2 separate regions of the Homo sapiens genome follow, and region 1 is linked to region 2. Evidence: promoter capture Hi-C in human tissues and cell types (Jung and others, 2019). All regions are on one chromosome and are shown on one strand. The core of a region is centred on a gene start or on the middle of the fragment in contact, and the rest is flanking DNA. Distances in the headings are between cores, read along the strand shown. Region 1 has its middle 52 kb from the start of DRGX. Region 2 holds the start of DRGX (dorsal root ganglia homeobox).

Region 1 (4,962 bases), core at 2,125-4,624, 52 kb after region 2:
TTTCTAATGAAAACTATTTGTAAGCTAGGAACAGGAAAAGGGTTCTTAACTCATTAAAAGGTGTCAACCAGAAATTTAGAGCACATATGCTTCACACATGCAAAGCATTCCTCATTTAAGTTAGGAAAAAGACACAGATGACCACTCCCATCACCATTCCTGGCAAATGCGGGGCTAGAGGAAGATGGTAGCACAGTAAGAAAAGAATAAGGTTTATAAATACTGAAAAGAAAGAGGCAATCATGTCGTTATTTGTAGATGATCTTTGGTATATCTAGAAAATATGAGAACCAGTTGCTGAAGCTTTAGAACTATAAAGATAATCCAGCAGTAATAAAAATAAGAAAAGTAACATAAAAATGAAACTGCTAACACACACAGCTCTTATTTTTGTGCCAGGCACTATTCTAAGCTCTTTAGACCAACATGACAAATTAAAAAATGTAATGGTTTCAGCAATGTAACAGATAAGATTACCCAAAAGGCCTTCTAAACAAGAAATGTTATTTATAATGTTAAATATAATGTGACAAAAATCCGTTTAACGACATAGCTGAGATCTTAGCAAAGTCAAGTGCCAGGGGCTACAAACGAGAAAGAAACTATAAATAGAGTGGTCCATATTCCCTGAAAAGTGCTGTTCCTGAAATACAGAAGTTTGGATTTAACACCAAGGCATGGGTAGCAGACAAAAATATGGGCTTGCTTTAGAAAAAGAATCAGAACTGAGACCCCCTCATACAGGTATGGCCTCAGAAAAACAGTGGGCTAGAATATTAATAGAATCTACCTCCCGCTACAGAGAAGCTTTGCTGTTTGAGCTGGATTCTTAGTGGGGGACTTATCCTCCCTCATATCTCACCCCACCTCTACACTCAGACAATTCATAACTATAAGTTCACATGAGTTTGAAGTCCAAACTTACATTACCACAAGATCCAAAATATTGAAAGTTAAGAAATTAACAGAAAAAATTGGTCCCAGGCTGATAATAACCATCAGATGCAAGCACATACAAAAACCATGCTGGTGAGAAAGCCCCTTTGAAGATGACTCACCCATCTTTACACACAAAAACGTCACACACACACACACACACACACACACACACCCCCCAATTTACTGTGAGGGAGAGCCAGCAGACACCACAAAGAGCAGGATCAACAGCAAGACCTCCAGCCAGTGCAGTAATCTGATGGAGTCTATGAAACAGTGGTGTTTAAAATTATTATAGCCACAAGAAGAAAAAATAAGAAAAAAGCATTGTAAGACAAAATTGGGAAGCTTAGAGGGGAGGAAGAAACAATTTTAGAAATAAACATTATGATTATAAAATTAAAAATTCAGGCTGGGCACAGTGCCTCATACATGTAATCCCAGTGCTTTGGGAGGCCAAAGCAGGAGGATCACTTGAGCCAAGAGTTCAAGACTGGCCTGGGTGACACAGCGAGACTCTGTCTCTCTGAAAAAATTTTCAAACTTCAGCCAGGTGTGGTGGCATCTGCCTGTAGCCCCAGCCTCTTGGGAGGCTGAGGCGGGAGGATCACTTGAGCCCAAGAGTTCGAGGTTGCAGTGAGCTATGGTCAAAAGTTTGCAGTGAGCTATGATCTGAGCTATGATCGTGCCACTGCACTTCAACCTGGGCAAAAGTGAAACTATGTCTCAAAAAATAATAATAAAAATTCAATGGATAGCTTAACCAGAAAGTTAGAAATAAAAAGTTCCAGAAGGGTGAAAGCAAATGAGGAGAGGCAGTATTCAAAGAAATAATGGCTACAGTCTTCCAGAACTGTTGAAGGACATGAATCCTTAAATTCAGGAAGCACAGGCTCCATACAGGATAAAAATAAATCCACATATCTCTGAGGACTGAACCAGAAGGGGAAAAACACCCATAAATCAGAGTGAAACTGCAGAACACCAATGACAAACAGATGATAACCACAAAGGAATAACTTTGAAAAATTTATGTGGAAAAAAGACACATAAATCATAATGAAACTGCAGAACACCAATGACAAACAGATGATATCCACAAAGGAACAACTTTTAAAACAGACAAAATAAACAATTTTCTAGAAAAATCTTACCAAAATAGACTGAAAGCAATATTGAACACCTGAAGATATTTTTTAAAGTGTACAAATCAGCAGCCTTTAGTACATTCACAATGTTGTGCGATCACCACTTCCATCTGGTTCCAAAGCACTTTCATCACCCCATAAAAGAACCCTATACCCATTAAGAAATCACTCCCCAGCTGGGCGTGGTGGCTCACGCCTGTAATCCCAGCACTTTGGGAGGCCGAGGCGGGCAGATCACAAGGTCAGGAGATCGAGACCATCCTGGTTAATATGGTGAAACCCCATCTCTACTAAAAAAATACAAAAAAAATTAGCCGGGCATAGTGGCGGGCACCTGTAGTCCCAGCTACTTGGGAGGCTGAGGCAGGAGGCCGAGGCAGGAGAATGGCGTGAACCTGGGAGGTGGAGCTTGCAGTGAGCCAAGATCGTGCCACTGCACTCCAGCCTGGGCAGCAGAGCAAGACTGTCTCAAAAAAAAAAAAAGAAAGAAAGAAATCACTCCCCATCCCCCTCCCCACCCCAGCCTCTCACAACCATTCATCTGCTTTCTGTCTATAGAATTCCCTGTTCTGTGTATTTTATATAAATGGTATCATACAATATATGTTATCTTCTGTGTCATCCTTGTTGCATCAGTACTTCATCCCTTTTGTGGCTGAGTAATATTCCACTGTGTAGATAGACCACATTTTGTTTATCTATTCATCTGTCAATGGACGCTTCAACTGTGTCCACATTTTGACCATTGTGAATAGTGCTACTATGAATATTCACATACAAGTATTTGTTTGAGCACCAGTTTTCAGTTTGTGGAATATTCCACAAAGTATAATTGTTGGATCATATGGTAATTGTATGTTTAACTTTTTGAGGAAACACCAAACTATTTTTCACAGTGGTTGCACCATTTTACATTCTCACCAGCAATGTATAAAGGTTTGCTTATCCATGTCCTTGTCAACATTTGTTATTGAGTTTTAAAAAAATTATTATAGTCATGCTAGTGACTGTGAAGTGGTACCTCATCACAGTTTTGACTTGCCTTTCCCTAAAGACTAATGATGTCAAGCATCTTTTCATGTGCTTTTTGGCCATTTGTATATCTTCTTTGGGAAATGTCTATTCAGATTCTTCAAGCATTTTTAATTGGGTTGTCTTTTTGTTAAGCTCCCAATTTATCTTGCACCTTATGTTAATTATTTATTAACAACTGTACTGAGATATAATTCATATACCATATAACTCATTTATTTCAGTAGTACAATTCAGTAGCTTTTAGTATACTCAAAGATACATGCAACCATCACCACCTCAATTTTACATTTTCATCATCTGAAAACCTAAAAATCACCTCCAAACCCCCAACTTTTTAACTATTGTCCCCACTTATGACCCTTTAAGCAACCTACTTACCACTCTTTCTTTAAGCAACCACTAACCTACTTCCTGTTTCTATAGATTTCCCTATTCTGGACTTTTATATGGATGGGATCATAGCATGTGGTCTTTCATGACTTTTTCACTTAGCAGGAAATTTTAGAGGTTCATCAGTGTTATAGCATGTATCAGTGTATCCGTCCTTCATTGCTTTTTGGGGCTGAATAATATTCCATTGTATAGATATACTGCATTTTAAAATCCATTCACCTATTGATGTATATTTGAGCTGTTTCCACTTTTTGGCTATTACGAACAATGCTGCTAGAGATTCATTTACAAGTTTCTGTGTGGACATAAGTCTTCATTTCACTTGGTTATATACCTAGGAGAGGAATTTCTAGGTCATAGGCTAGCTCTGTGTTTAATCATTTGAGAAATTGCAACTGTTTTCTAAAGTGGCTGCACCATTTTACATTCTCACCAGCAGTATCTGTGGCTTCCAATCTCTCTACAATCTCTTGTCAACACTTGTTACTATCTTTTTTATTTTAGCCAACTTAGTGGGTGTGAAGTGATATCTCATTGTGGTTTTGCTTTGCATTTCCCTGATGACTAATGATGTCAAGCATCTTTTCATGTGCTTATTGGCCATTTTTATATATTTGGGAAAATGTCTAATCAGATCCTTTGTCCATTTTTAAAGTTATTTCTGAGTCTTTATTAGATATGATTCACAAATATTTTCTCCAATTCTGTAGGTTGTCTTTTCCCTTTCTTGATGGTATCCTTCAAAGCACAAAAGCTTTAAATTTCAATGAAGTCCAAATTCTCTTCTTTTGCTGCTTGTGTTTTTAATGTCATATCTTAGAATGCTTGCCAAGCCCAAGTTCATGAAGATTTACCCATTTTCTTCTAAGAGTTTTATAGGTTTTGCTTTGATAGTTAGGTCTTTTTTTTTTTTTTTTTTTTTTTTTTGAGACAGAGTCTCACTCTGTCACCCAGGCTGGAACGCAGTGGCACAATCTCGGCTCCTGGGTTCAAGTGATCCTTCTGCCTCAGCCTCCCAAGTAGCTGGGACTACAGGTGCACGCCACCACGCCCAGCTAATTTTTGTATTTTTAGTAGAGACAGGGTTTCACCATATTGACCAGGCTGCTCTCAAACTCCTGACCTTATGATCTGCCCACCTCAGCCTCCCAAAGTGTTAGGATTACAGGCGTGAGCCACCGCGCCTGGCCTCTTTCATCTATTTTAACTTGTTTTCTTTTTTCTTTTTTTTGAGATAGGGTCTTGCTCTGTCACCCAGGCTGGAGTACAGTGGCATGCTCATGGATCACTACAACCTTGACCTCCTGGGCTCAAGTGATCCTCTCACCATAGCCTCCTGAGTAGCTGGGACTACAGATGCACATGACCATGACCAGCTAACTTGTTTTTTCTGTAGAGACATGACTTTGCCATGTTGCCCAGGCTGGTCTGAAACTCCTGGACTCAAGCA
Region 2 (5,092 bases), core at 700-3,199:
TTGGGGATAAAATGTGAAATGCAGGCAAATGTGTGGCCTTCCCTTCCTAGGAATGCTGACAGAGCTAGCAGGGCTTAAACACTGGTCCTCATTAGCCTCCTTTAGAAAATCCTATTGGACTCTTAAGAGCTTTTATGAGAAAAACAAAAACAAACTTTCTGAGGCTCAGCCACTGCTCAGGGCAGCCTGCAGCAAGACTGACAAGCATCACCTGAAGTCTCAGGTCTCCTAGCGCCTCACAACATATACCCTGCCCCTTGTCTCCCACAACTACTTGGCTTCCCAAATTCTCCCACCACAATAATAAATCAAACGAGTAGGTTGCCAAATGCCAGTCCGACGGTTACAAAAGTCCCAATACCCCAGTGCTGAGACTGCTGCTCTGCAGAAGGCCCCATTAAAGCCCACAGTGTGGCATTGGCTCACCTGATGGCTACTAATTGGCCCCCTGATGTGAAGACCCCATCCTTGGATCCCTCGGGTCCTGAGCAGGGGCATGCTGAGGTCCCAACTGTCCCCTTCTCACCAACCCACGCCCCCACTAACAACTGGGTGCAGAAGCCAGACTGGGGATCCTGAGGGGAAATTTCTTCTCAGGCCTGGAGACACTCAAAGATGGAAATTCTGGCCTGGGGAGTGGGGAGTGGTCGACATTTAGGGTTAGTGAGTCACAGAGAAGGAGCCATGCTAGGTCAGTCCGGGCAGGTGGTGGGCAGGGCCACCTGGTTCCAGGGACGGCCAGGAGGCCGGGAAGGGAATTGAGCTGCCCAGAATCCAGGGCGGAAGAGGCCCCTGCAGTGTTCTCGCCAGCGGCCCCAGTGAGAGCAGCCCAGCGACGGGCCCTTGTAGGCTCGTGCAGCTCGTGATCTGGGCCAGGACGCGGCGGGTCCACTCGCCTTTGCTTTCTGGGATGTTTGCAGAAGCACCGTGAAAGATTGATGCGGCCCCCTGGGTTGCGGAGCCCCAATTAGAGGCGTGACACCAGCATCTGTGCTGGGAGGATTCGGCCGGTCCCCGCGGCACGCCTAGCCCGGGGCGTCCTGGCCCAGGCGGGGAGGGAGCTGGGAGGCAGGTGGCGACGGGGCGGGGAGCTGGAGCGGGCCTGGAGTGGGGTGTAGGGAGGGGTCCAGGGAGGCCCCTACTCACCGGCAGGCGGCTGCGCCCCCCGCAGGGCGGGGACCCAGCCACCCACCAGCCCTGCTGCCGCTCCGGCCCTTTCTGGCCGGCTCTGGCTTCATGGAGACCCTGGGGCGCAGCGCTTACTTACCCTCTAGCTGTGGCGGGCAGTGGAAATAAAACATCGCCGGCTGTCAGATCGGCTGGACGGCCGAGACCTGGGAGGGTGGCAGCAGAACGGACCCGCGCGCGTTGCTCCTGCCTGGCTGCAAAGCAAACAGCGATAGAGCTTCAAGTCTCCCTCTGCCAGCGCTCCCGCCCAGCCCTAGGGCGCACCCGGCGCTCCCCTCCTGGAAAGTCCCTCCCAACGCCCTCATCTCACTGCGGGGGACAGGAGGGAAGGCGGCAGCCCCGTCGCAAGCAGCAACCCCACAGGGCAGTCCTTCGGGTGTGTCCACCTCCCGGACGGCCGTGCCCTCACCCTGGCCCCAGCACCAAACCCCGCAGCGTAGTTTCTGGCTCTCTGGGGTCCCAGCCAGAAGCCCTGCACCCGGGCCACCGCAGCCAGGTCCGGCTAGCGCGCAAGGCCATCTGCGAGCTGCAGCTCAGGCCAGGAAGGCAGCCGAGCCCCAAGGCCCGGCGCTCGGGGCCCGGCGAGTGGGTCAGGAGCCGAGCATACCTCGGCGGGCGGCGGTCGAGGAGGTCGGAGCGTGACCGCCTCCGATCCGCAAGCCCTGCTCGGCTGGCGGCGGGCGGGGCTCGGCGCGGCTGGCGCCCGCAGGACCAAAGAAGTGACTCGGGAAGTGGCCAGATGTCTTGCTGTCTGTCTGCAGCGCGCGCCGCCGCTCAGCACTCGCCTTTATAATCTCACGCATAATTGGCCTTAATCTGATTATTTCCAGCGCTGTCTACAGCGAGTAACTTGGATAGGTCTATTGGGCCTTACAAATGGCCCACGTGGTGTTAAAAAAAAAATCCGTCATTTCTCAGCAAACATCAGGAATGCTTTTTCCTCTTTTAAAAGAGAACGATACAACCACCACCACCATCACCCCCAAAAACATACATTTTCCGAAAACACACTAGGCCCCACCCCCCACCTCATGTCCCCTCAGAGGCAAACCTTTCTCCGAGAGAGCCTGGTTTGGGCTGCCCTTATCAAAGGCCTGGTGACTCCCGGGCTGCAAATTGGCAAAGCGCTGCTAATTGTCGCCGCCGGATGGGTTTTGGGGGGACTCTTTGCACACGGCTTCCCTTTCCAAACGATCGTACAAAAGGAAAGTTTGATTTTGTTCTCAGCAAGGGGTCCCTGAATTTATGTTCGCTTCTCGATGCAAATGATATGCGGTGGGACCCTTTGCAATTACTTTTAAAATGCATCCGAGGCAGACACTCAACGGAGAGAGACCGCCCTTCTCTCTGCCTGGGTGAAAATTAAACTCTAAAGTACCGGGCTGAAATTTTCAAGTCAGGGGCGCGGGATTGGATCAAATCACATAAACTGCAAAAAAAGCAAGTCTAATGGCGCATAATTGGTTCTGTAATAGCATTACACCAGGATAATAGCCCGTTACGGCCCCCTGCACTATTAAGTGCTTCCCTGGCGGAAAGCCTTTATGATATTAAAGGGGGAATATAATGATATTTTGGTTATTAAATGCGTGTAATTAATTTATGCACCACTGAAAATAAAGTTGGTATTATGACCCACTCAAGATGCATCAGAAGATGCAAGTCAGACAACTGTTGATAAGTTCTGGTGTCTGTGCTCCGTCTAGACTGCTGATTTTATTTTGGGACGATGGCTTCTTGGACAGACTACATAAATTGAATATTTTATAAACATTCTAATGCTGCGTTAGGGAGCCTTGGCGAGGTGGTGGGTCGGGTCCCTGCACGGCCCGGGATACAGCCTTGATCTTAAAGACGCAGCGCTTTGGAAACAAAAGGCCTGGCAGGCCCGCCGCTGGACACCAGCGCTGGGCAAGGAGCATCGAGCTGCAGGACAGAGCGCTGGGTCCCGGCCGCCGTTGACGCCCCTCCGAAAACAGCCGGGAGGAAGACCAGTCCCGCTCCGGTCGAGGCAAGTCAGGATCTATTCCAGTGAAGCGGCCCTTCCTGGGCTCAGTCGCTCCAGAGCAGAGTCTGCTCTGCCTCGGGGAAAGAATCACAGGAAACTTCCGCTCGTTTCAGAGCGGAGAGAGCTCGGGGCGCCATTTCCGCCAGGGCCACCGACTCCGAGAGTCCAGGCAGCCGGCCCGGGAGGAGCGGCTAGCAGGTCCCGAAGGCGGGTGAGGTGGCAGGCAGGGGCCGGCAGGGCAGCCGAGGGCCTTTCCTACGTCATGCCAAGAGGGCTGGGAGCCCCTAGAGCTGATCCTCCCTTAGCCCAGGTCAAGAGACTGGCTCGCGCGCGCTGTCTCTCTCCCTGTCTCCCTCAGAGGGCCCCTGCTCTCTGGAGCTCTTGACAAGAGCCCGAGGCTCCTCTTGCCGCCTAGGTCTGCCGAAAGTCCCCTCGGGTTCCCTCCTGCCCTAGGCAGCAGTTCCCTGCCTGTGCGCTTTGGGAACCCGGTGGCCGTGAAGTGAGGTGCGGACAGCTTCTGGGCCGCCTCGGCCAAGATGCTCAGGCGCACCTGGGGGTGTGTGCGGGAACCCTCAGCGGCAGCAGCCCAGCCCGGGGTGCAGTGTTGGCCCCAGAAACCAATGAGGTCCAAACGCCAGTCTCAGTTCCCCATCCCTGACATCGACCGAGGCAAGTTCCTATTAAGGCCCAGAGATGACCCCGGGACGAGACAGGCTCATCCGGCGCGGATGAGACAGGCTCAGACCTGCGCGGTCTGAGGACGGCGCGCTCGCCGAGCAACCCGGCAGGTCAGAACCCTGGACAGCGGCGCCGGTTTCCGCACCCCCACCCACCCCCGGCTGCTGCGGAGAAAGAAGCCGTACCGGGGGCCCAGCCGGGGCCCCTCGCTGCTCAGGGGTGGGATCCGCCCGGCCGGACCCCAGGCGTCCGGGGACCGACCCCAATCCTCTCCCAGTCCAAACCTGCGAAAGTTACTCCGGACATGCGCTCAGCGCTGGCAACAGAGACAAAACTCCCTTCTCCGCAGTACCACGCGCCGCTCCTACCCGGCCGCTGCAGCCGGAAACCATCTCGCGGCCCCCGAGGAGAGTCCGGCCGCCTCACTGACTAGATAACCAGCCGAGCTCCCTCAACACACCCACCTCGCGGGGGCTCTAAGCCGGCTTGGGACCCTCGGCCTCGCCTCGCCCGGCGCTCCTCTCCCGGAGCCGCTAGGCTGGGCTCCTTCCCGTTGGCAAAACAGCGAGTAAACAAACAACCAAACAACCTTAGAAACGAAAGGCTGCACCAAACTTTGATGACGCCAGCCCCCTTTTTTTCCGAATGTCTCGACACCCGGGAGAAGGTGACTAATAGGTGTTCGCTACGGTCCCCCTCCCCCTAAAAAAGGGCGTTAGTAACGAAAAGGTTATTTTTCCTTAATTTTTGTGCGGTAAAATGTATTTTCCAATTAACCAAATTCGCCGATCTGTCTCGCTTGGACACTCTGATAATTTACAACCTAAAAGTGTACTTTCTTTATCTAAAGACCAAGGTGACTGCTTTTAATTTTCTCTAACCTCTTTACACTTGATGTTCACCAGACTCATAATGTTAATTGGCTTCATATACGGATCATCAGTTTAATGAAGAAATAAATCCTGTGTTGCTTTATGTTTTAACAGTGATTGCTTTAATGAGGAATGTGACGTGTTCCAAAATCAAAGCTGCAGGAGACATTAGAGGGGCTTCCACTAGGACAGAAATGCTTATTTAAAGTTAAAACCGCGGGGTCATATTTCAGCAGATTCACAGTCCTCCCCACCCCCTCCCCCGCTCCCCGCCCTCACCTAGCCTGCCTCCCGCCTCTGTAGGGAGACAATCCTGGGTCCTCAGTGCCCCTTCTCTCCGCATCTC

The links. The method cuts DNA at HindIII sites, captures the fragments that hold promoters and counts their contacts. A contact is called where the count stands out against the background at its distance.
Region 1: a fragment that was not itself captured here is called in contact with the fragment with the promoter of DRGX in region 2 in 2 of the 25 tissues and cell types used here (pancreas and spleen).

Annotation. Positions count from the first base shown.
Region 1 is chr10:49,445,148-49,450,109 of GRCh38, forward strand. It overlaps a transcript of ERCC6 not described here. Among named protein-coding and RNA genes, the nearest start is that of DRGX, 52 kb to the left of the region's middle. The HindIII fragment of the contact is 5,638 bases long and covers 556-4,962 here.
Region 2 is chr10:49,394,140-49,399,231 of GRCh38, forward strand. It overlaps DRGX (dorsal root ganglia homeobox), which reads right to left and starts at 1,950. Exons shown (of 7, transcript NM_001276451.2): 1 at 1,796-1,950; 2 at 1,268-1,382. The coding sequence starts at 1,301. RefSeq lists a silencer at 3,965-4,124. The HindIII fragment of the contact is 28,897 bases long and covers 1-5,092 here.